Linked DNA regions of Homo sapiens: all the other regions are linked to region 6. Evidence: promoter capture Hi-C in 16 types of primary human blood cells and fetal thymus (Javierre and others, 2016). All regions are on one chromosome and are shown on one strand. The core of a region is centred on a gene start or on the middle of the fragment in contact, and the rest is flanking DNA. Distances in the headings are between cores, read along the strand shown. Region 1 overlaps KCNJ10 (potassium inwardly rectifying channel subfamily J member 10). Region 2 has its middle 32 kb from the start of LINC02819. Region 3 overlaps KCNJ9 (potassium inwardly rectifying channel subfamily J member 9). Region 4 overlaps LINC02819 (long intergenic non-protein coding RNA 2819). Region 5 has its middle 5.7 kb from the start of LINC02819. Region 6 holds the start of DUSP23 (dual specificity phosphatase 23). Region 7 has its middle 11 kb from the start of OR10J1.

Region 1 (3,002 bases), core at 262-2,761, 260 kb before region 6:
GGATGAACAGAGCAGAGTAGAATCAACTACTTTTTTGTTCTAGGGACTTCAGTTCAACTGAAGGAGCTTAAGATTAGTTTGCTTTTTTGGCAATCAAAACACATGAATAACTCATATTGGATTATTTTCTGCTAATATGTTTAATTTTTTTATATTGTACTGCTTTGCTAAATCACATCTTCTCAATCCAGAACTTGCTCAGGTAATTTTTGGACCCAAGTACATAATCCAGCACTTAACATTTTTGTTAGACTTGGCCTACTTATTTGACTCCTTTTGGATCCTAATTCTGCCCCAGCTCTTGCATTTGCTATCTGTCCCAGCTTTCTGTCAGGCACACAATTGATGGCCATAGCATTCTATAGTTTTGAATGAAGTTCATGTTAAGAAAATTGAATAGGGCAAGGCCAAAGATGAAGCTCTCTGGTGTATCAATAGAAAATGAATTCCAGGCTATCATGGTCCCCTCACCAGTACCACTGATTTTTAAAGTCACCGAATTAGATTAGCATTCTCTTCATTTTTCTTTATCTTATCCCCAGGTCATAATGAGAGATCTTGTCAAAAATCTCCTGAAGTTTAGGTACACGTTCTCTGTTGCACTTCTTCGATTTGTCAATTTAGTAGCCTTATCATAAAAGAAAATTAGGTTATTATTGTTTTTGAGACAGGGTCTCATTCTGTTGCCCAGGCTGCAGTGCAGTGGCATGATTATAGCTCTCTGCAGCCTCCAACTCCTGAGCTCAAGTGATCCTCCTGCCTCAGCCTCCAAGTAGCTGGGAGTACAGGTGTGTGCTACCATATCCAGCTAATTTTTAAAAATTTTTGCTGATATGGTGTCTTGCTGTTTCCCAGGATGGTTTTGAACTTCTGATCTCAAGTGATCCTCCTGCCTCAGCCTCCCAAAGTGCTGGGATACAGGTATGAGCCACCACACTCAGCCAAAATTAGGCCATTTTGATGTGACTTGTTCTTAGTAAATCCACACTGGGTCCTATTGATAACTTCCTTTCCCCCATCCTACCTAAGTACTCGTAATCTTAATATTCCATTCTAGAATCTTGCCTAGGATCAATATCTTACCTGTTTGTAGTTTGTGAAAGGTACTTCATTTTTCTTTTTGAAAATTAAAACTATGTTCATTCATCTCTAATTTTACAGCACTTCTTCTGTTCTCATTCCTCAAAATCTTATAGGAGTTTACATCTTTTTTTTCAAGAGTTTGAGGATCAAATGAGAAGGTATTCTAATGTGTGAATTCTAAAATGGTATATAGATACAGGCAGTATGGTTGTTATGTTATTATTACTACTACTGAGTACTAAATAGGGCTTTGTTTAGGCTTGAAATACAAATTCTTCAAACTTCAGAGTTGCAGAGCTTCCTTTTTGTTCCAAAGCAGCCAAGGATATAGGGGAGTGAATGACATCCAGGTCTGGTTGAACAGTCTTGCATGAACGGAAGTTCCAAATGGCCTGTGACACAGGGCTGGTAAATTGGGCATCCTTGTTGCCTCTGAACATTCTCAGGGTTCTCATCCATTGGTGATCTCCAATTCAGTGCCTACCTGGTTGGGCATATGGTCAGGCCCAAAAGATTTGAAGTTTTCCAGGGACAAGGCCATGGGGAAAATAGAGATGGGGGGTGGGGTGGGCAGTGTGAAGAATCATAAAATGCAATGGTTCAGACTTTTTCGAATGGAGAATGTAATGAGCCTCTCCAAGAAGGGCTAAACTCCCCAGAGATCACCCTGCTCCACAGAAGATCTGGCTATCAGATCCAGGGTCCAAGGGCTCAAGTGATTAAAATTCTTTCTGTGCTGGAAAAGTACAAGTTACTGCTTGGGCAAGGGTGCCAGGCACCTTGTATTAAGTGAATTGTCTCCTATTTCAGTGGCTTGCCCCACTTTCTGCTATCAGAACAAATAGCAATACTGAATTTGAGCCTGTGCAGACATAGCTGCTAGTTAATATACACCCCTAGCTCTTCTACTTCATTCTGTCAAAACAATTTTGCCACCCACAATCTGGCATTTCTGCCAGTCCTTCAGAAAATGTCCCAGTGCTTCCAGGAAGTTTTAACATGTTGTTTCTCCTCCACCACTGCTTATTTCCTTTTGTTCAAGTCCCATCTGTACTCTTCCTAACACTGCCCTAGACTCTAACTCAGACCAAATTTCCCCAGATGATGCAAACAGATGATGATGATGATGATAAAAAATGAAATGGTCTGGGTGCTTAGGGAGCATCTTGAAGGGTAAAAGAATGGGTAGTTTCTGCTATTCTCTGAACCAGATGAGTATCTTAGTATCACCAGTGGGTATTGGCTTGGGGGTAGAGCAGAGAATGAAGAAATTAAGGTTGTGTGTGTGTGTGTGTGTGTGTGTGTGTGTGTGTGTGTGTGTTTTAAGGGGGATTGGCCTGGAAGGATTTCAACAGGATAGCTTGTCTTGCTTCATAGCCATTCATAAGGGTGGGGATGGATCCTATTTCAAAATTAGAGCTCTTCGGAGGACTGGTTTTGTGGTGAAGGCTCTCATTAGTCTCACCCTCACCTTCAAGGAATGTGAAGCTACTACTCTTTCTTTTCTGCCTCTCTTCCGCTAAGAATTACAAATATCAGACTGTGTTGCAATTATTTGCTTACTAAATAGGCATCTTTCTCACTAGGCTGTGAGTTCTTGGAGAGCAGAATGATGTCATTTTATTTTATTTTATTTTATTTACTTTTTTTTTTTTTTGAGACGGAGTCTCGCTGTGTCACCCAGGCTGGAGTGCAGTGGCGCGATGTCGGCTCACTGCAACCTCTGTCTCCCGGGTTCAAGCGATTCTCCTGCCTCAGCCTCCTGAGTAGCTGGGACTACAGGCGCATGCCACCATGCCCAGCTAATTTTTGTATTTTTAGTAGAGACAGGGTTTTGCCTTGTTGGCCAGGCTGGTCTTGAACTCCTGACCTCAGGCGATCCACCCGCCTCGGCCCCTGCACAGTGCCTGGCACATAGC
Region 2 (3,018 bases), core at 354-2,853, 280 kb after region 6:
ATGAAAAATAGCAAAAATAATCCGATGAGGCCTTTTGGACACCAACCATTAAATGAACAAATGTTTGCATTATGTGATTTTCATAGGAAGAACAGATGGAGAAAGGCATAGAAAACTTATCGAACGAAATAATAGCTGAAAATGTCTCATGTTTTGGGAGAGATATGAATATGCAGATACATGTAGCTTAAAGGATCCTAATTAGATTCAACTCAAAGAGATCCTCTCCAAGGTACATTATAATTAAACTATCAAAAGTCAAAGACAAAAAGAATTATAAACACATCAAGTCAATATGTAAGTGAACCACCATTAGACTATAAGCAGATTTTTCAGAAGAAACCTTGCAGGCCAGGAGAGAATAGGATCATGAATAGGATGACCTACTCAAAGTGCTAAAAGAAAAAAATCATCATCTAAAAATACTATACTCAGCAAAGCTATCTTTCAAAAATGAAGACACAAAATTCCAGACAAGTAAAAGCTATGGAAATGTATCACTGCTTGTATTAGTCTGTTCTCATGCTGCTGATAAAGACATTACCTGAGACTGGGAAATTTCCAAAAGAAAGATGTTCAATGGACTTACAGTTCCACATGTCTGGAGAGGCCTCACAATCATGGTGGAAGGCAAGGAGGAGCAACTCACATCTTACATGGATGGCAGCAGGCAAAGAGAGAGAGCTTGTGCAGGGAAACTCCCCCTTATAGTACCATCAGATCTTGTGAGACATATTCACTATCATGAATAAGTGATACTGCTGAAAAACCTGTCCCCATGATTCAATTACATCCCACTGGGTCCCTCCCACGACACATGGGAATTTAAGATGATATTTGGGTGGGGACACAGGCAAACCATATTACTGCTATACTGACCTTACAACAAATGATTAAGGGAATGCTTTAACTGGAAGTGAAAGGACTTTATTACCATTAAATCACAGAATATAAAACTCACTGAGAGAAAAGCTCATAATCAAATTCAGAATACTGCATTACTGTGATAGTGGTATGTAAATCTTTCAAATGTCTAGTATGAAGGTTAAAAATCATCTACAATTACCAAAACTAAATACACTGTTAAGAAATACACAACATAGAAAGATTTTAATTAAGGCAACAAAATGAAAAATTGTGGGGAAGAGGGTAAAAGTCTAGAATATTTGTATGTGACCAAAGCTAAGTTGTTACCAACTTATAATGGTATTTTATAGCTGTAATGTTTTATGTAAACCCAGAGTAATTTAAAAAATTACAGCAGATACACATATGAAAAAGAGAAAGGAAACAAAACTTATCACTAAAGAAATCACTAAACCACAAAGGTAAACAACAAGAGAGGGAGAAGAACAAAAGATCTATAAAATAACCAGAAAATAACTAGCAGAATGACAGTAGTAAGTTTTTACCTATCAGTAATAACCTTGAATGTAAACTGATTAAGTTATCCAATTAAATGATATAGAGTGAGTGAATTGATAAAAAAGAAAAAAAGACCCATTTAGATGCTGCCTGCAAATGAGTCATTTTACCTGTAGGACACACATACACTGAAAGTAAAGGGATGAAAAAGGATATTCTATGGAAACGGGATAAGAGATATTTCATGCAAATGAAAGCCAAAAGAGAGCAAAAGTAGTTATACTTAGATCTAGACATTAAGTTAAAAAAGTAAAAAGATGCAAAGATGGTTATAAAGGTGTCAATTCAACTAGGGGACATAACAACTATAAATTTATATGCATCTGACACTTGGATAGTCAAATATATAATGCATATGTTATAAATCTAATTAGAGAGATAAACTGTAACATTTAATAATAGTAGGGGACTTAAGCACCCCATGCTTAGCAATGGACAGATCATTTAGAAAGAAAATCAGTAAAGAAACATTGGATTTCAAATGGACTCTATATAAAATGAATCTAAGAAACTTTTACAGAATATTCCACCCAACAGCTATAAAATCCAGTCTTCATCAGCACATGGAATGTCCTCCAGGACAGATCACATGTTAGGCCATAAAACAAGTCTCAAAAAAATGTAAAAATATCTTAATCATATCAAGCATCTTTTCTGACCACAGTGGGATAAAATCTGAAATTAATAACAGGAGGAATCTTGAAAACAAGCAACGTATACAAAAATTAAACAATAGAGTCCTGAATAACAAATGGGTCAGTTAAGATATTAAAAAGGAAATTAAAATTTTCTTCAAACAATGAAAATGAAAATACAACATACCAAAGGCTATTAGATACAGCAAAGGCAGTTATTTGAGGAAAACTTATAGCAATAAATGCATACACCAAAAATTTGAAAGATATCAAATAAACCACATAATGTTGCACCTGAGGAATTAGAAAAACAAGAACAAACTAAACCCAAAAATATTAAAAGAAAAGAAATAATAAATTACACTATAAAATTACAAAAGATCAATAAAACAAAGAGTTTTTAAATGATAAACAAAACAGACATACCTTTAGCTAGACCAAGTAAGAAAGAGAGAAGATTAAAATAAATAAAGTTAAAGATGAAAAAGTAGACATCACAACTGATATCAAAGAAATACAAAGGATTGTTAGAGATTATTATAAACAACTATATGCCTATAAATTGGAAAACCATTAACAGAAATTGATAAATTCCTAGACACATACAACCTACTAAAATTGAATCATGAAGAAATAAAAATTCTGAACAGATCAATAATGAGTAAGAAGATTGATTCAGAAATAAAAGGTTTCCCACCAAAGAAAAGTCCAGGAGCTGATGATTTCAGTGCTAAATTCTACCAAACAGTTAAAGAAGAACCAATACAAATACTTTTCAAACTATTCTAAAATATTAAAGAAAATACAAAATTTATTGTATAAGACCAGCATCCCTTGGTACCAAAACCAGACAAAGACACAACAGCAACAAAAAAGGAAAACTACAGGCAAATTTCTCTGATGAACATACATACAAAAATACTCCACAAAATACTAGCAGATTGAATTCAACAACACA
Region 3 (2,700 bases), core at 89-2,588, 310 kb before region 6:
CTGGGAGGAGGGGCACCGGTCAGGGGGAATCTCAGCTCCAGGCTTCCCTCTCCTCTTCTCATTCCACAACCCTACTCCCAGCACCCTCCCTTCTATTCCTTCCTAAGGGCTCCCACCTCCCTTTGGTCCAGTCCATTTCCCCCCCTCCCTAGCTCCTGTTCTTACCCAGCTCCCTCGTGTCTTCTCCATTTGCCCCAACTCCTCTTAATGTCCAGCTCTTTTTTCCCCTCCTGTCATTTGGTGATGCCAACCAAAAAAAGCTTAACCTTGAAACTAACCTTAGGGATCCTCTAGTCCAACTTCTCACTCCATACAGGGCTCCCCAAAGGAGCATTTCTAACAATGGGCATCTAGCTTATACTTGATTACCTCCCAGGATTGATAGCTCACCACTTCATAAAGGGCCCACTCCTTTGTATGATAGCTCTAATAGTTGGGTTGTTCTTTATACAGAGCTAAAACCTGTACCCTGGGATTTCCAACTCTTGGCTTCATTCCCCTCCCACTTCACAGTCCTCTGAGTATCTGAAAACAGGAGTCTCAGATTCCCTCATGTTTTCTCTCTTGACTTAACATCCCTGGCTTCCTCCACGATTCCTCATTTGACCTGGTTTTCCAGAACTCTACTTTTTTGATTACAAGCCAGAATGGCCAAGGAGGGCCCTTTAAGCATTTTGAGTATAGTAAATTTTCCAACTGTGGCCTGCTCCGTGCATAAGAGAGCGCGCACCATCTCTCTCTTCTGGCCATGATGCTTTCACTAATAGGGCCCAGGATAACATTACATAATCATTTTGGAGGCTGCATCACATTGCTACGACATCAAGACTGTAGCCAACTAAAACTCCCAGTTCTTTTTTCACCAGTGCTCTTCCATGCTGTGCTTACATAAGTGATTTTTTTAAAGCCTAAATGTAGAATTTTATATTTATTCATTTTAAATGTCATCTTGCTGGGTTTTGGCTCATTATTCTTGCTTTTCAAAAGCGTTTTGAATCCTGACTGTCTCACCCAAAATATTACCATCCTTTCCAGCTTTATCTCTCTAGAAAAACAGACAGATTCCTATCCTCATCTCCTCTGTCCTGGTCCTCCCTGCCCGGGGCTTGTGTCCTATCTTCCTGTTGGGCTGGTGCACCCCTCAGGGCAGGTCATTCTCCTTTCTGCCACAGGGTCTTGCCCCCAACCCATATCCATCTCGGAACAAGGGGAAACAGAAGAGTGAACATTAGCTAACCGGAGAGTGGCTGTCAACTCGGAAAGCCTGGCGCTGAGACATTGGTATTCCTCGGTGAAGTTGGAATAGAAAGTATCCAGTGGGAGAGAAGAGAAAGAGGCATAAGGGACACTGGGGAGAGAAGGGCTTCGAGGAGGAGAGGGCAGGGCTGGGGGTACAAAGAGAAAAGAGGGCCGGGCAGCAACTTCCCTGGAGGGTGAGGGGCCTGCCTGAGATACTGGCAGAAAAGGAGTGACAGCTGGAGAGAGAGGAAAGGGAACGGGGTGAGTGGGGGAAGAGGAAAGAGTCGGGGTGAAGCAGGAATGGGAACAGTGATGCGGAGCTGGGGTTGGGGTGTGAAGCGGAGTCTCAGCCTAAAGGGGCCAGGGAAAGGATCTGAAGGCACCAGCTTGTCAGCGAAGCCGGCAGGGAGCATCAGCAGCTCTGGCGTCAGAGGAGGGACTGCGGCGCCCCCTAGTGGGCCTTTGGTCCTCCACCCGCAGTTTCCTCATCCTCATCTATCCTCTAGATCTCAAGTCCTAAGTGACCTCCTTTGCGACTCCTGTAACACTGGTCTTTTTTCACCTGCTCCCAAAGCCTTCACTGTGTAGGTCTGGGTTGGACTTATTGACATCACAGATGAGTTGCCAGTTCCTTTTGGAAAAGAGCTAGAAAAGGTAACATCATCTATATCCCTTGTCAGTGGAAATGGATGAATTGGGAAACCGAGGTACAAGTGAGACTAGGTATTAAACTCCCCTCAAGATCCGGCCTAGAAATAACTCAGGCAATGGAAAACCTTCACCGTCAAATTCCAGGGGCCTGAACCTGACTGCAGTGAGAAAACCCCTGAACCTAACCCCTCCTTCCAACTCGGGACCACTAAACATTGAAGCCACATTGCCTGTGTCCAATCCAGGCATGGCCACTTATTGGCTTAGGAAAGTGGACAACTTCCTTAATTTCTCATTGGAGCAATCTCATCTCTAAAAAGTGAGCACAATAACAAGAAGTTACCTTCAGAGGGTTCTTGTTAGGATTAAATCGACTCAGAGGTAGAAAGTGCTTTGGAACTGCGCATGACACAGGGTGAATACTGGGCGAGCACTAGCTATTATTACTGTCCCTATTCCAAGTGACACATTCCTCTGGGCCCAGGGCCCCACGCCAGTGCCATTTCGGAGAATTCCTCCAAGCTTTCTCTTGGCCTTCTGCGGCGTTGCTCGGTTCCACTCCCGCCTCCGACCCCTGTCTCACCTCACTGTCTCATCCTCCACCAGCCCCTCCATCCATCCTCCCCAGCTCCCCTGGCCCCTAGTCTCGCCCCTGCCTTCCTCGGTCCCGCCCACCCTCTGCCAACCCCGCTCCCCTCCCCAGGCCTGCTCGCACCCGTGGCTTCCACCATGCCCTCGAGGATAACGACGATCTCGAAGTCGTCCCTCTCGAGGGCACGGCGCGACGCCTCCCAGAAGGGGCTGGCGGCG
Region 4 (2,995 bases), core at 248-2,747, 300 kb after region 6:
TTACAATCATCTTTGCTTTTTAAAATTATGGGACCGTCTTCCTCCTTTTGACTTTGATGCACAAATCTTTCTATCTTTGCTCCATCTAGATCTACACAGATGTCTCTAAGATAAAATAACCCATCATAATTAATTCACTAGAAGTCAGGGGACCTGGGCTTTGCTTTTGAATTTTTCAGTTTTCATTACCAGACAATGTGATCTTTGGTACTATTAATCACTTTGAATCTTATTTTTCATGTTGGTTGCAAATGTAAAAATCAATTAGACCTAGCTTAAGAAAAAGAAAAATTCATTGTAAATTGTAGCAGCATCCCATAAAACTTAAGTGCAAGAATGTAGCCACACCTTAAGAAGACATTAGATGATGAAGTTGGGAAGTTTTAGCACTCTCTCTCACTTTTTTGTCTCCATTTCTGTCTGTAATCTATTTACTTCCTTTTTTTTCTGTTCAGATGGCTATTTTCCTCACAAAAACTACCAATTTAATGTTATAGTTTAATCTACATGGACAGTTTCTTTTCATCTTTCCCCACCACTTCCTGACTCTCCTGTTTCATTTTCTTCTCTACATTTTTACTTCCCAATTTCTACTTCTTTCCTAGTTCCAAATTCCTAAATGAGGGAATCAGAGTGATCTAACTGGGATTTGATAAACTTCTCTGATTCTACCAACTCTGATCAAAGATAGGGTCACATTACAAAGAGATAAATTTTGAGAATTAAACAATATGGATTCAGAGTAAAGGCAGTTACAGTGAAGAAAACATTTGGAGTTTGACAGGTTCACAAAAAATGTGTACCACATTTCTCTCCTATAAAATGGAGCTAACACTTTCTGCTATGCTCACTTTACAATTAAAAAAATTTTTTTGAGGGTCATAGCAGACATTGTGTTTAAGAACACATTGAATATTATTACACACTTGGAAGAATTGTTTTGAAGTTTTATAGTGCTAGATTTGGGTTCCGAACAAGTGGCAGACCTGATCTTGATGAAAGAAAGAAGATAATTCATCCAGTTGTGAAGTGGATAAAGGTTTTCTAAGAGCTCATCACCATGACTCCCAAAGTTTTGATTGTCTTCATAATGATGGGAAATCACAATTTCAGGAATAGGAACAAAGTTTTTGTGAGAGTTAGGAAGAATCCAGAGGTGCAAGGTGTAAGTGGTGATGTTTGTGTGTGGAGGTAATCCTTCCAAGTTTATCCAGACAACAATGGCAAGAGTAAGAACTGAACTTAAATACTGATGCACTTAGACATGGAAAATGCTGAACTTTATGTGTAATGATTTGTCAGTTATTTATTATATGATTATTTATTTTCTGACAGGTCATAAAAGCAGGATACATCATTGACAACAGAAGTAATTATCAGTTTTAGAATAAAAGCAAAAAGATTCTTAGGTTTCTTGGGGCACTATAATACAGTGTTGATGTTGGGAGGAGTAAAAGAAACAGGTATATCTTTTAACAGGTTGGTCAAAGAGGTTACATGTGTTTTTCAAGAAGGTTGTCAGTTGGAATTATTGTTGCTTCTGCCCTTATTCCAATGGGGCTGGTACAGCAATAGTGCCTACTTTTCCAGGCTTTGAAGCATGTCTGCATCAGGACAGGCCGACAGTCCTGGAAAGGGCACAGAGAGAAGCCTGGAGTGAGCTCCTGGAGTGAGGGAAGCCTGGACTGTACTTAGGGAGATTTGAGTTCTTATTCTCAGGATCTTCTTTCTGTCCCTCCTTTTACTGTTTCATTAAAACAAACAAACAAATGAGCAAACAAACGAAAAACCCCAGCTAGCCAAATTCCTGTAGTAGACCTGGTGGGAAAAGTCAAAGAGGTTATCCTAAGACTTTACATCTGCACCAGCTGAAGAAAATCTCAGACGGCACATGTGAACCAGGCCTGGTCATCAGACACTGGACTTTATTTGGGGACAAATGTATGCAATTTCCTGGAGTGTAATCTGTGCCGAACATGCCCTATTAAGAATTTATAGCAGGAGACAGCTGGCCAAAGATTTGGGGTCCTGGCTTTCTACTATCACTGCTAATATGAGGCACATAAGCAGGTGCTCACTAAATAATAAATTAATGAACAGTCTACTGAACATGTCCTTTTGCAATATGGCACTGAGAGTCATCTGTCTTATTTTATGAAGCATCAGTAGTTTCTGATTCATACTCTGTGAAAATGGCAGTGTTCCCCGGAGGCAGAAATGCACAATTTTTCCTTGGCAGTTGAGAACACCACTACATTGCTTGTCTTCAGTTACAAATGGAGAGATTAGTGTTGGCCATGAGAGCAGACTCTTCTTCCCCAAAGAGGGTCACAGGGCAACAGAGGTAGAATAAAGATACAGAGAGACATTTGGTTAAGAGGAGAGATTTGAAGGAACACATGTCAAAATGCCTTAATATTCCTGGTAAGGTAGGATACCAAGTCACTGACTAAGACTGGAATGAGTAGGGCTATAGTTGGTGATTTGGAAAAGCCACTGTGTTGAATGTGATATAAGGCAAAAACATACTCACTTTCTTCAGATATCTGTATATCTCATATTTCTGTGGTTTACTCAGGTCTCTACTCACATGTCGCTTTTTTACAGAAGTCTCACAAGCCCAGCCCATTAATAAAAATGCCTCTGGCCGGGCGCAGTGGCTGACGCCTGTAATCCCAGCACTTTGGGAGGCCGAGGCGGGCGGATCACAAGGTCAGGAGATCGAGACCATCCTGGCTAACACAGTGAAACCCTGTCTCTACTAAAAATGCAAAAAAATTAGCCAGGCGCGGTGGCAGGCGCCTGTAGTCCCAGCTATTCGCGAGGCAGAGGCAGGAAAATGGCGTGAACCCGGGAGGCGGAGCTTGCAGTGAGCCGACATCGCGCCACTGCACTCCAGCCTAGGCGACAGAGCCAGACTCCGTCTCAAAAAAAAAAAAAAAAAAAAAGCCTCTGTATTACCCTTGCTCTGTATTATTTTATTAAAAATAATGTG
Region 5 (2,729 bases), core at 210-2,709, 320 kb after region 6:
TGTCTATGTCCACTCCACCCAGCAGTAATGAGGGGCCCAGCTCCTCCCCTGCTGGGATGGGGTCAGAAGAGGCTGAGTTGCATGTCAGGACTTATATTGCCAGCCGGTAGTAATAAGACCACCCCACTTATAGGCTCAGTGGAAGTCACATAGGAGTGGCAACGAGACATACCTCTCCCTCCCAGACAGGAATGTTCTCTTAAAAAGGAAACAGTACCAGAAAGAAGCTTGAAATATCAGGGAGGAAGAAAGAAAATTGAATGTGAAAATAGAGGTAAATAAAATAGATTTTCCTTCTCTGGAGTTTTAAAAGTTATGTTTGGTTAAAATGAAAATTATATCTGTCAGTGCTATAAGGGTTGATGTGGTTTTAAATTTGTGTAGAGGAAATATTTAAGACAATTATGTTATAAAAGAAGGAGGATAAAGGGATATAAATGGAGGTAAGATTTCTACTCTTTACTCAAACTGGTAAACTGATGACACCTAGACTATGATGAATTTTGTATATATAATACTTACCACAACCACCAAAAATCTATACCAAAATCTACATCTAAAATGAAACAGAAAAATCAAAATGGAATTTGAAAATATGTCCATGTTACCCATAGTAAGGCATGAAAAAGAGAAACACAAAAAAACAGATAAAATAGAAAAGAAATAAAATAGCAGATTTAAGTCCTAGCATATTAATAATTACATAAAACATAAATGGTCTAGATATACCAAATCAAAACAGATTGCAGAGTGGATGTCATAACATGACCTAAATATATGCTGTCTAGTAGAAATTAACTTTAAATATAGGCAGGTAGAAAATAAACAAATGGGAAAGAATAATCATGCAAGTATTAATTAAAAGAAACCAGGATTGGGTATATTAATATGAGGTAAGGTAGGCTTCTGAGAAAAGAAAATGACCAGAGAAAGAGAGAGACATAATATGATGATAATCCTACAGCTAACTTTGTACTTAATGGTGAAAGACTGACTGCTTTATCTATAGGTTTGAAAATAAGGTAAATATGTCCACTTCCTTTTATTAACACAATGCTATAACTAGCCAGCACAATAAGGCAAAAAGAGGAAATAAAAAGCATCCTGATTGGAAAAAAAAAGAAATAAAATGTCTTTCTTTGCAGAAGACATAATTGTCTATGTAGAAATTCCAAGGAGTCTACAAAAATCTCTTAGAACTAATAAGTGAGTTCAGTCAGATCATAAAATATAAGATATACCTACAAAAATCTATTGCATTTCTATATACTAGTAATGAACACGCAGGCACTGAAATTAGTAGCAAAAAGCCATTTACAACTGGAAAAAAAGTGAAATAGCAGTAAGTATAACAAAATATGTATAGGATTTGTATATTCAAAGCTATAAATGCTGATAAAAAAATCAAAGATCAAAGTAAGTGAAGAGATATATGTGTTTATGGATTGGAAGACTCATATAGTGAATACATTACTTCTTCCTAAATTGATATATAGAAATAATGTAATTTCTATCAATATCTCAGAATTTTTTTGTAGATATAGAAAAGATTATTCTAAAATTTATGTGGAAAAGCTAAGGAACTAGAATAGTTAAAATAATATAGGAAAGAAAGAGTAAAGTGAAGAAATAAGTCTACCAAATTTTAAGGCTTATTATATATTTATAATAATAAAGATTGTTAAGTATTGGTAGAAAGATAGATAAACAGATCAATAGGACAGAATAGAGAAACTAAAATAGTCACAAATATGTCCTACTTATTTTTTAGAGAGATTACGAAGTAATTTGATGGAGAAAGATAGCCTGTTCAACAATTAATGATGCTAGAGCACTTAGAGATTCACGGGCAAAAATAATAATAATAATAAACTTCAACCTAAGTCTCATATCTTATATAAAAATTAAGTCAAAGTAGACTACTCACATAAATATAGGCAGGATTCTTTAAACTAAAATTATGATCCATGAAAAATATGATAAATTGGGTTTCATTAAAATTTAAAACGTCATCAAAATTTAAAATGTTTGACAGCTTATTACTTATAATACTGAATAGGATTCCATTGTGTGGGTGTTCAACAGATTATTTACCTTCTCACTTATTGAATGACTTCTTGGTTGACTCCAATTTTTACAGACTATGAAGAAAGCTGCTATAAACTTTTGTATGCAGATTTCTTTGTGGACAAAAGTTTTTCATCATTTAGATAAACACCTAGCAGTGTGGTTGCTGGATCATAGGGCAAGAATATGTTTATCTTTGTGTAAAACTGTCCAACTCTCTTCCAAAGTAGCTATACCATGTTGCATCCCAACCCTTAATGATTGAGAGTTCCTACTGTACCACATCTTCACCAGCAATTGGAGTTGTCAGTGTTTTAAATTTTAGCCATTCTAATAACTACGTGGTGGTATTTCATTGTTATTTTAATTTTCATTTTCCTAATAAGAAATGATGAACATTTATTCATGTGCTTATTTGCTATCTATAGATTTTTGATGATGTTGCTATTCAGTTATTTGGCTGATTTTTAAATTGGGTTACTTGTTTTGTTATTGTTGAGTTGTAAGAGTTCTTTGTACATTTTGGATACAAGTTCAATTTCAGTAGCTTTCAGTTCTCTAACTTTGTTCTGTCCAGTATTGTGTTGGCTATTCTAGATGCTTTATCTTTCCATAAAAGCTTTAGAAGCAGTTTGTCAATATTTACAAAATACCTTGCTGAG
Region 6 (2,813 bases), core at 187-2,686:
GCCCCATCGACAACATGGGGAAGGGGAGTGAGGGCCTGGTAGAAGGGTACTAAGGCCCCTTATTTCGTTCGCTGGTAGAACTGGAAGACTGCTTTCTCCTGCTCATAGGTCTCGATGGAGCCGGGTCGTAGTCGTCGGATTTCAGCAATGGCATCTCCTGCAGCCAAGCCCCGCTCCTTCACCAGGTAACAGGCCAGCATGGTGCCAGTGCGGCCAAAGCCCAGAGCACAGTGCACTCCCACAGCCTACGAAGAGGGGGCTCGATGGGTGCCACTCAACTCCCCCACCCACAACTGTTTCCTGCCCCTCACTTGGTTCTCCCCACAGCTCCTTCTTCTGTGCCAGGTCCAGGGCTCTGCAGCAAAGTCAGGGAGGGCTGTCCCTGCACTAGGTGGCTAGGAGGCCTCTGCACTGGCTGGTTCAAGAGCTGTCCACCTCTACACAGCCCTCCACCTGTGGTGTTCAATACAGAAGACAGTAGCCACGGCTACTGTGGCTACTGTACTCGAAATGTGGCTAGTCCAAACTGAGATGTAGTGTGAAAAACGCAACAGGGTATGAAGAGGTAGTAGAAAAAAGAATGAAAATATCTCATTAAGATCACCAAAGTTAATTTTATCTGCTTCCCTGCTTTTTAAGAATGCCGTTGCTAGAAAAATTAACATTACATGGAGCCACTTAGGTTCCATTATATTTGGACAGCTTTACTCTAGAAAATGGTAAACAGCCTCCACCTGACTTCAACCCCCACCTCTCCCAGGTGTCTGTCCACACCCTTCTCCTTCACAACTCACAGTATTAGCTGGTTTTCACTGCCTCTCCTCAAGCCCAGTTCGCACTGCTTCGCCCTCTCTTTAGTTCCTTCCGTTTAGCGCTTCCCTCCCCCGCACTGGCTTCCCAGTCTCCCGGCCCTACTGTCTGCCTCCCCGAGCCCAGTTAAGTTATCCCAGGCCCGGTCTCCCCAGCTCCGCCCGTGTCCCCCGCTGACCTTCCAGGCCCCTCCCTCCCTGCGCTGACCCCGCCCGCTGACCTCTCCCCGTGCGTTGGCCTCGTCCACGATCTGCACGAAGCGGTCGATCTGGTCGGGGGCCGGCGGGCAGAAGTCGGGGATGCGCAGGCGGTGCAGGGTGAGGCCGGGGCAGCTGTCGCTGTGAGGGGGCCCGCGCTCCGTCAGGGACACCAGGTGCCGCACGCCCAGGTCCAACAGGAACTGGTAGTGGGCGGGGAGCCGCGGCAGCGCCAGTCCCGCCAGCCGGCCCGGAAGCACCCAGGAGAAGTTGGGGGGCTGCACGCCCATCGCTGGGAAAGGGCACAGGACAGCGGGTCATGGGGGCCGAGGCTGGCCAGCCCCGCTCCGCCCACGCGTCCCCTCGCCCGCTCCGAGCCAAGTAACTCACCACCTACCTGGCCTCGGCGCCTCCCGGGCCACGTGGTCTGCAGGGCGCCGCCCTCGGGTCGCTCTGCCCAGCCGCGGGGATTGGCCCAGAACCTGGGGCGGGGCTGGAACGCGGAACCCAGTCTCTGAGCGACCGAGGGAAGCGCCGCGATCCCGCCCCGTCCGAGCAGATCACGCGGTGATTGGCTGGATCATCATAATGGGCGGGGGGTTACTTCCACGGGGTTCAACCCACTCAGCTAAGAAGGAAGACCTGGAGCGAGTTAGGAATTGTTTGCTGCGGATGGAACAACCCGGGGTCGGGCTCTGCTGCACCCTGGCGGCATGTTGCAGTCATTGCGTCACTGGCGCCTGCCCCTGCCTCCTCGCGGGCCGGCCTAGTTCTACCTCCTTCACGCTGGATGCCCTGGGGTTTAAGAGATGACAAATCGGCTTTCTCCCAGGACGAGGAGTCTCCTCTCTAATGATTGACTGGTCGTTATCAGCGACTTTTTGAACTGTTCCAGTAAGAGGGAATTACTGCTGCAAGGAGGCTATTCTCATTTTTTCATTGCTGGAACTATTAAAAACTTACCCAGGGTAATAATTATAGTAATAATAATAACCAGCACCAACTTCTCCTGTCAATCCAGTTGCTCCTCAGGACTTATTGAGCATTTATTATGTGCTAGATAGTCTTCTAAGCACTTAGCACATACTGACTCATTTAATTGCCACAGTAATCTTATAAGATAGGTGATCTAGTGAATCCCATTTTATGGATGAAAAAACAGAGGCACTGGAGAGGTTAATAAACTTGACCAAAGGATGATGACTAATGCCTCCAAAATCTTTAATAATATCGCCATTTCCTAAAGTTAAATGGAACATTGTTTTCTCTTCACATAACCCCCTCATGTCCCCAAATATTATCTGGGTTAAACGCTTGTGGGTTTTCTTAATTTTTATTAGTATTTCATATTTCTTCATTTTTCAAGGTTTCCTAGTTCTCTGGGTCACTGTCCCCTGGGCAGGCTAGAGTTGATTAGTGTTGTTCTTACTAGGTGGGGGCCCCTAGATCTGAACACCGTTTCCACTGTCATCTGACCAGTCCATATCCTCATTTGAATAATGTGCTTCTAGCGATGCAGACTAACTGTAATTATGAAAATAGTTAACCCTTATTGAATTTGTTTATGTACCAGGCCCTGTGCCAAGCGCTTTCTGGAAGAACCACATGTGAAAGGTATTTTTGTATCTTTTTTTGTACATGAATCATTGGAAGCTTAAAGAAGTTGGTTAACTTGGCCAAGGACACAGTGATCCAAGCCCAGGGCACTTGGCCATGAGGATGTATTATATTTCCTTCCCTTTGCACCCACCTATGACACACGTCTGACCATTTAAGCCTTTGGCTTCAGCAAGATGGAAAGCAATT
Region 7 (2,963 bases), core at 458-2,957, 350 kb after region 6:
TCAGAGACTGCTATGAAGAAATGCTGAGTGTCACAATCTGGGATGGAGATGGTTTGTTGAGGGCTGCGGAGACTGGACAGCATTTCAATGAGAATATGCTGGATAAGGCATTTAGGCTTTGGAAGCTTTGCCTTCCTTAAGGCTGGTACCCAGATTATCCTTTCTCGGTGATTTTTTTCACTATTTATGCTTTTGATTCCTAAGTTTTGTGACACAGCTGTATATTCATTTTTTCCACTTGATAATTATCTCAGGAGATAAAAGAGAGAGATGAGGGTCATGAGGTTATGAGATGAGGGCCACGAGGTCACATTTAGTTACAGAACAAGAATCCCTGCATCAAGTCCTGAAATGTGACTTACATATCACTGGGCAGGATGGAGGCTTATTCAGGATTCAGGAGAGTGAGGCTTGAAACTAGAATTTCCAGGACTCCCATTGTACTGTGGCAGACACAGCACACAGAGAATCTTCCAAACTGGAGGACTAGAAATAAAACAGAACCTACCAGGACCTTTCAGTTAATTTATCTCCCTGATCAGTCAGATCTGGGAGTAACAAACATACAAAAAGCAGCACCAGGCTCTCCTGCACCTCCCCATTGCCCTGTCCCTTTAAGTCTGAATTGCTGGCTGCCCAAGAGGACCATTCTCCTGTGCCCTAGGACTCTGGGGTCCCTCTCCCCAAAACCACAGTGACTGTCTGCAAGGCAGCAATAGCACAATCCAAACACTCTGATGTCTGGGGAACTCATTATAAAAGTGACTCATCAACAATCATACAACTAGTACTTCGACAATCTTGGTTTTTCCCACAGGAATGAAGTCTTTGCATCAGCATAAGGTCCTGGACTGCTCCGTGGTTGAAGAGGACTCATGCCTCATGATCGCATTATGGGGAGGGCCTCAGAACCAATCATGTTTAAGGATGCAGCGTCATGAGACAAATCACTCACACTCCAGGGTCTCTCTGTCCTAACTGCTGAAGGACCTACCTCTGAGGTCTCTTCAGTTTGAATGTTGTGGGAACCATGACTCATTCATTTACTGATTTCTTCAGCAAATACTCAAAGAATGTCTCTCACATGCTAGGAACATGGAATACAGCAGAAACTGGGAACACTACACCTGTAGTGTAAGCCAGTTTTGCCTGCTTTGCAGTACCTGGCTACCCCTGTGTGTTACCCACAAAAAGCTGAGCACCTTCTCCTTGAGGAGATCAGAAGGAAGAGCTTTACTGAAGTAATTTCTGTAGCCCCCTCTTTCTCTCTCCAGAACTTAGTCCATCAACTGACCCAACCTTGCTTTCCTTTTAGAAGGTGAGCCCAAGATGGGCCTTTCTGAAGGTTGGAAGAGAATTGGATATCAAATCCCCCAGGATACCCTAAGACTTGGGCTCTTCAGTAATTCCTAGTTCTGGTGCCCAGTTTGTATCTTTCTCTTAAGGACTCTCTAAGTACCAGCATACTGAGAAATAAATATTTGAAAGCAGGACAGTTTATTGTGGTGTCTTTGACAAGCCAAGTAAGCTGGGAGAGACTGACAAGCATGGAAGAGTTGCCAGGCATTCAGTTCAATTCCACATAATCTCTCTTAAGGCCCTCAAACATTTACCCAACAGAAACTGGAAGTACTTGAGCTCATAAGCTATTAAGATCCAAAGTCCCACAGGCAAGAGATGAATTTACGGCATATTTATCACTGCTTGAGAATGGCCAGTGCATAACTTCGTTAGGACTGTTTGAAATCCTTTAGGGAGCAGCTAAAGGAAGGCTTAAAGTTGGGCAGCAAGTCTTATCGAGACCTTGAAATAATCATTAATCTTGGGCCTTTTTTGTCAATGTCTCTTCTTTATAGTTCTCCTGGTAGCTATTTAAATATGTAGCTCTTTGAAATTAGAAATAGAATGGAATTGAAACCTATGAGAAAGAAAAGGAAACCCGATACTGAAATTGTGAACAGAAAAGTGACTGACTTTTTAAAATATAAGTTTTATTGTGTGTTTATCTGAAGAAAGATGGGTTTAGGGAGAAAAGGCTAAGAAAATCTAGGATGAATGTAGGTTTTTTTCTGACAAAGGAGAAAAATGTATTGACGACTACATCATCTGCACATTTTGACAGTTTTCTCTTTTCTGTTCTGATTTTTATCTCTCTCATTTATTTCTCTTCACATTGCATTTGGTTATGAAATATAATATTCAATACTAACACTTATAGATACATTTTTGTCTTTTTTTCGGACTTTAAATGTTTTTCATGTTTTATTAACCATTAAACATGATGCTTGCTATAGATCTCTGGCAGATATAAGGAAGTTCCCTTCTATTCCTGGTTTGTTTGCAAGTTTATCATAAATGGTCTGTTAAATTTTCAGCTAGTTTCTTTTCTGCATTCATTGACATAATCATATGCTTTTTATTCTCTAAGTTGTTAGGGGTGAATTACATTAAGAAATTTTTAAAATATTGGCTCATTCATACGTTTTAACGGAAACCCCTACTTGATCTTTGTATATACTGCTGAATTCAGTTTACTATTTTTTCATCTATCCATTATTGGCCGATAATTATCTTTTCCAACTTGGCTATTTTTGGTATGAAAGGTTTGCAATTAGCAGCCTCTTTAAATGCTGGCTAAATCTCACACCTTTCTATCCTCTGAGCATGATGTTGTTTTTTGTGTCTTTGTTTTTTGGAAAGAGTAGGTTTTTCACTACTAGCGTTTCCTGTTTTATGGGGTTTTTATTCTAGTACATTTTCTATTTCTTGTCTAATTATGGTAATATATCCTTTTCTCCAAATCTGCCCATTTTATATACCTTTTAAAAATAAATTAGTATAAAGTTGTTCAAAATGTGCTTTTATAAGTATTTTGTTCCTCCGTATCTGTCCTTGTATCCTACTTGATAATGTTTCTTGTGTCTCTTTGATTTTTGTTGATCATGGCTGTTAGGGGTTTCATT

What was found. Contacts are between HindIII fragments. The CHiCAGO score rates a contact against its expected background, and 5 or more counts as called.
Region 1: a fragment that was not itself captured here is called in contact with the fragment with the promoter of DUSP23 in region 6 in 1 of 17 cell types (naive CD4 T cells); the score reaches 5.5 in naive CD4 T cells.
Region 2: a fragment that was not itself captured here is called in contact with the fragment with the promoter of DUSP23 in region 6 in 2 of 17 cell types (M2 macrophages and endothelial precursors); the score reaches 5.7 in M2 macrophages.
Region 3: a contact is called between a fragment that was not itself captured here and the fragment with the promoter of DUSP23 in region 6, in 2 of 17 cell types (naive B cells and non-activated CD4 T cells). The highest score is 5.4, in naive B cells.
Region 4: a contact is called between a fragment that was not itself captured here and the fragment with the promoter of DUSP23 in region 6, in 1 of 17 cell types (endothelial precursors). The highest score is 5.4, in endothelial precursors.
Region 5: a fragment that was not itself captured here is called in contact with the fragment with the promoter of DUSP23 in region 6 in 1 of 17 cell types (M2 macrophages); the score reaches 6.0 in M2 macrophages.
Region 7: a fragment that was not itself captured here is called in contact with the fragment with the promoter of DUSP23 in region 6 in 3 of 17 cell types (endothelial precursors, M2 macrophages and M0 macrophages); the score reaches 6.9 in endothelial precursors.

The regions. Positions count from the first base shown.
Region 1 is chr1:160,042,675-160,045,676 of GRCh38, reverse strand. The region is part of intron 1 of KCNJ10 (potassium inwardly rectifying channel subfamily J member 10); the gene reads left to right. Among named protein-coding and RNA genes, the nearest start is that of PIGM, 12 kb to the right of the region's middle. RefSeq lists an enhancer at 1-18. The HindIII fragment of the contact is 3,672 bases long and covers 1-3,002 here.
Region 2 is chr1:159,496,656-159,499,673 of GRCh38, reverse strand. No RefSeq gene overlaps it. Among named protein-coding and RNA genes, the nearest start is that of LINC02819, 32 kb to the right of the region's middle. The HindIII fragment of the contact is 3,393 bases long and covers 1-3,018 here.
Region 3 is chr1:160,084,786-160,087,485 of GRCh38, reverse strand. KCNJ9 (potassium inwardly rectifying channel subfamily J member 9) reads right to left here. Exons shown (of 3, transcript NM_004983.3): 2 at 2,606-2,700. Among named protein-coding and RNA genes, the nearest start is that of KCNJ9, 4.6 kb to the right of the region's middle. RefSeq lists an enhancer at 2,358-2,700. The HindIII fragment of the contact is 2,152 bases long and covers 263-2,414 here.
Region 4 is chr1:159,478,173-159,481,167 of GRCh38, reverse strand. All of the region lies in intron 2 of LINC02819 (long intergenic non-protein coding RNA 2819), which reads right to left. Among named protein-coding and RNA genes, the nearest start is that of LINC02819, 14 kb to the right of the region's middle. The HindIII fragment of the contact is 6,494 bases long and covers 1-2,995 here.
Region 5 is chr1:159,459,031-159,461,759 of GRCh38, reverse strand. No RefSeq gene overlaps it. Among named protein-coding and RNA genes, the nearest start is that of LINC02819, 5.7 kb to the left of the region's middle. The HindIII fragment of the contact is 2,459 bases long and covers 230-2,688 here.
Region 6 is chr1:159,779,585-159,782,397 of GRCh38, reverse strand. It overlaps DUSP23 (dual specificity phosphatase 23), which reads right to left and starts at 1,436. Exons shown (of 2, transcript NM_001319658.2): 1 at 1,031-1,436; 2 at 1-245. The coding sequence starts at 1,297. The coding sequence ends at 60. RefSeq lists an enhancer at 544-1,120 and a silencer at 1,112-1,501. The HindIII fragment of the contact is 4,062 bases long and covers 1-2,662 here.
Region 7 is chr1:159,427,394-159,430,356 of GRCh38, reverse strand. It overlaps a transcript of OR10J1 not described here. Among named protein-coding and RNA genes, the nearest start is that of OR10J1, 11 kb to the left of the region's middle. RefSeq lists a silencer at 624-918. The HindIII fragment of the contact is 3,159 bases long and covers 128-2,963 here.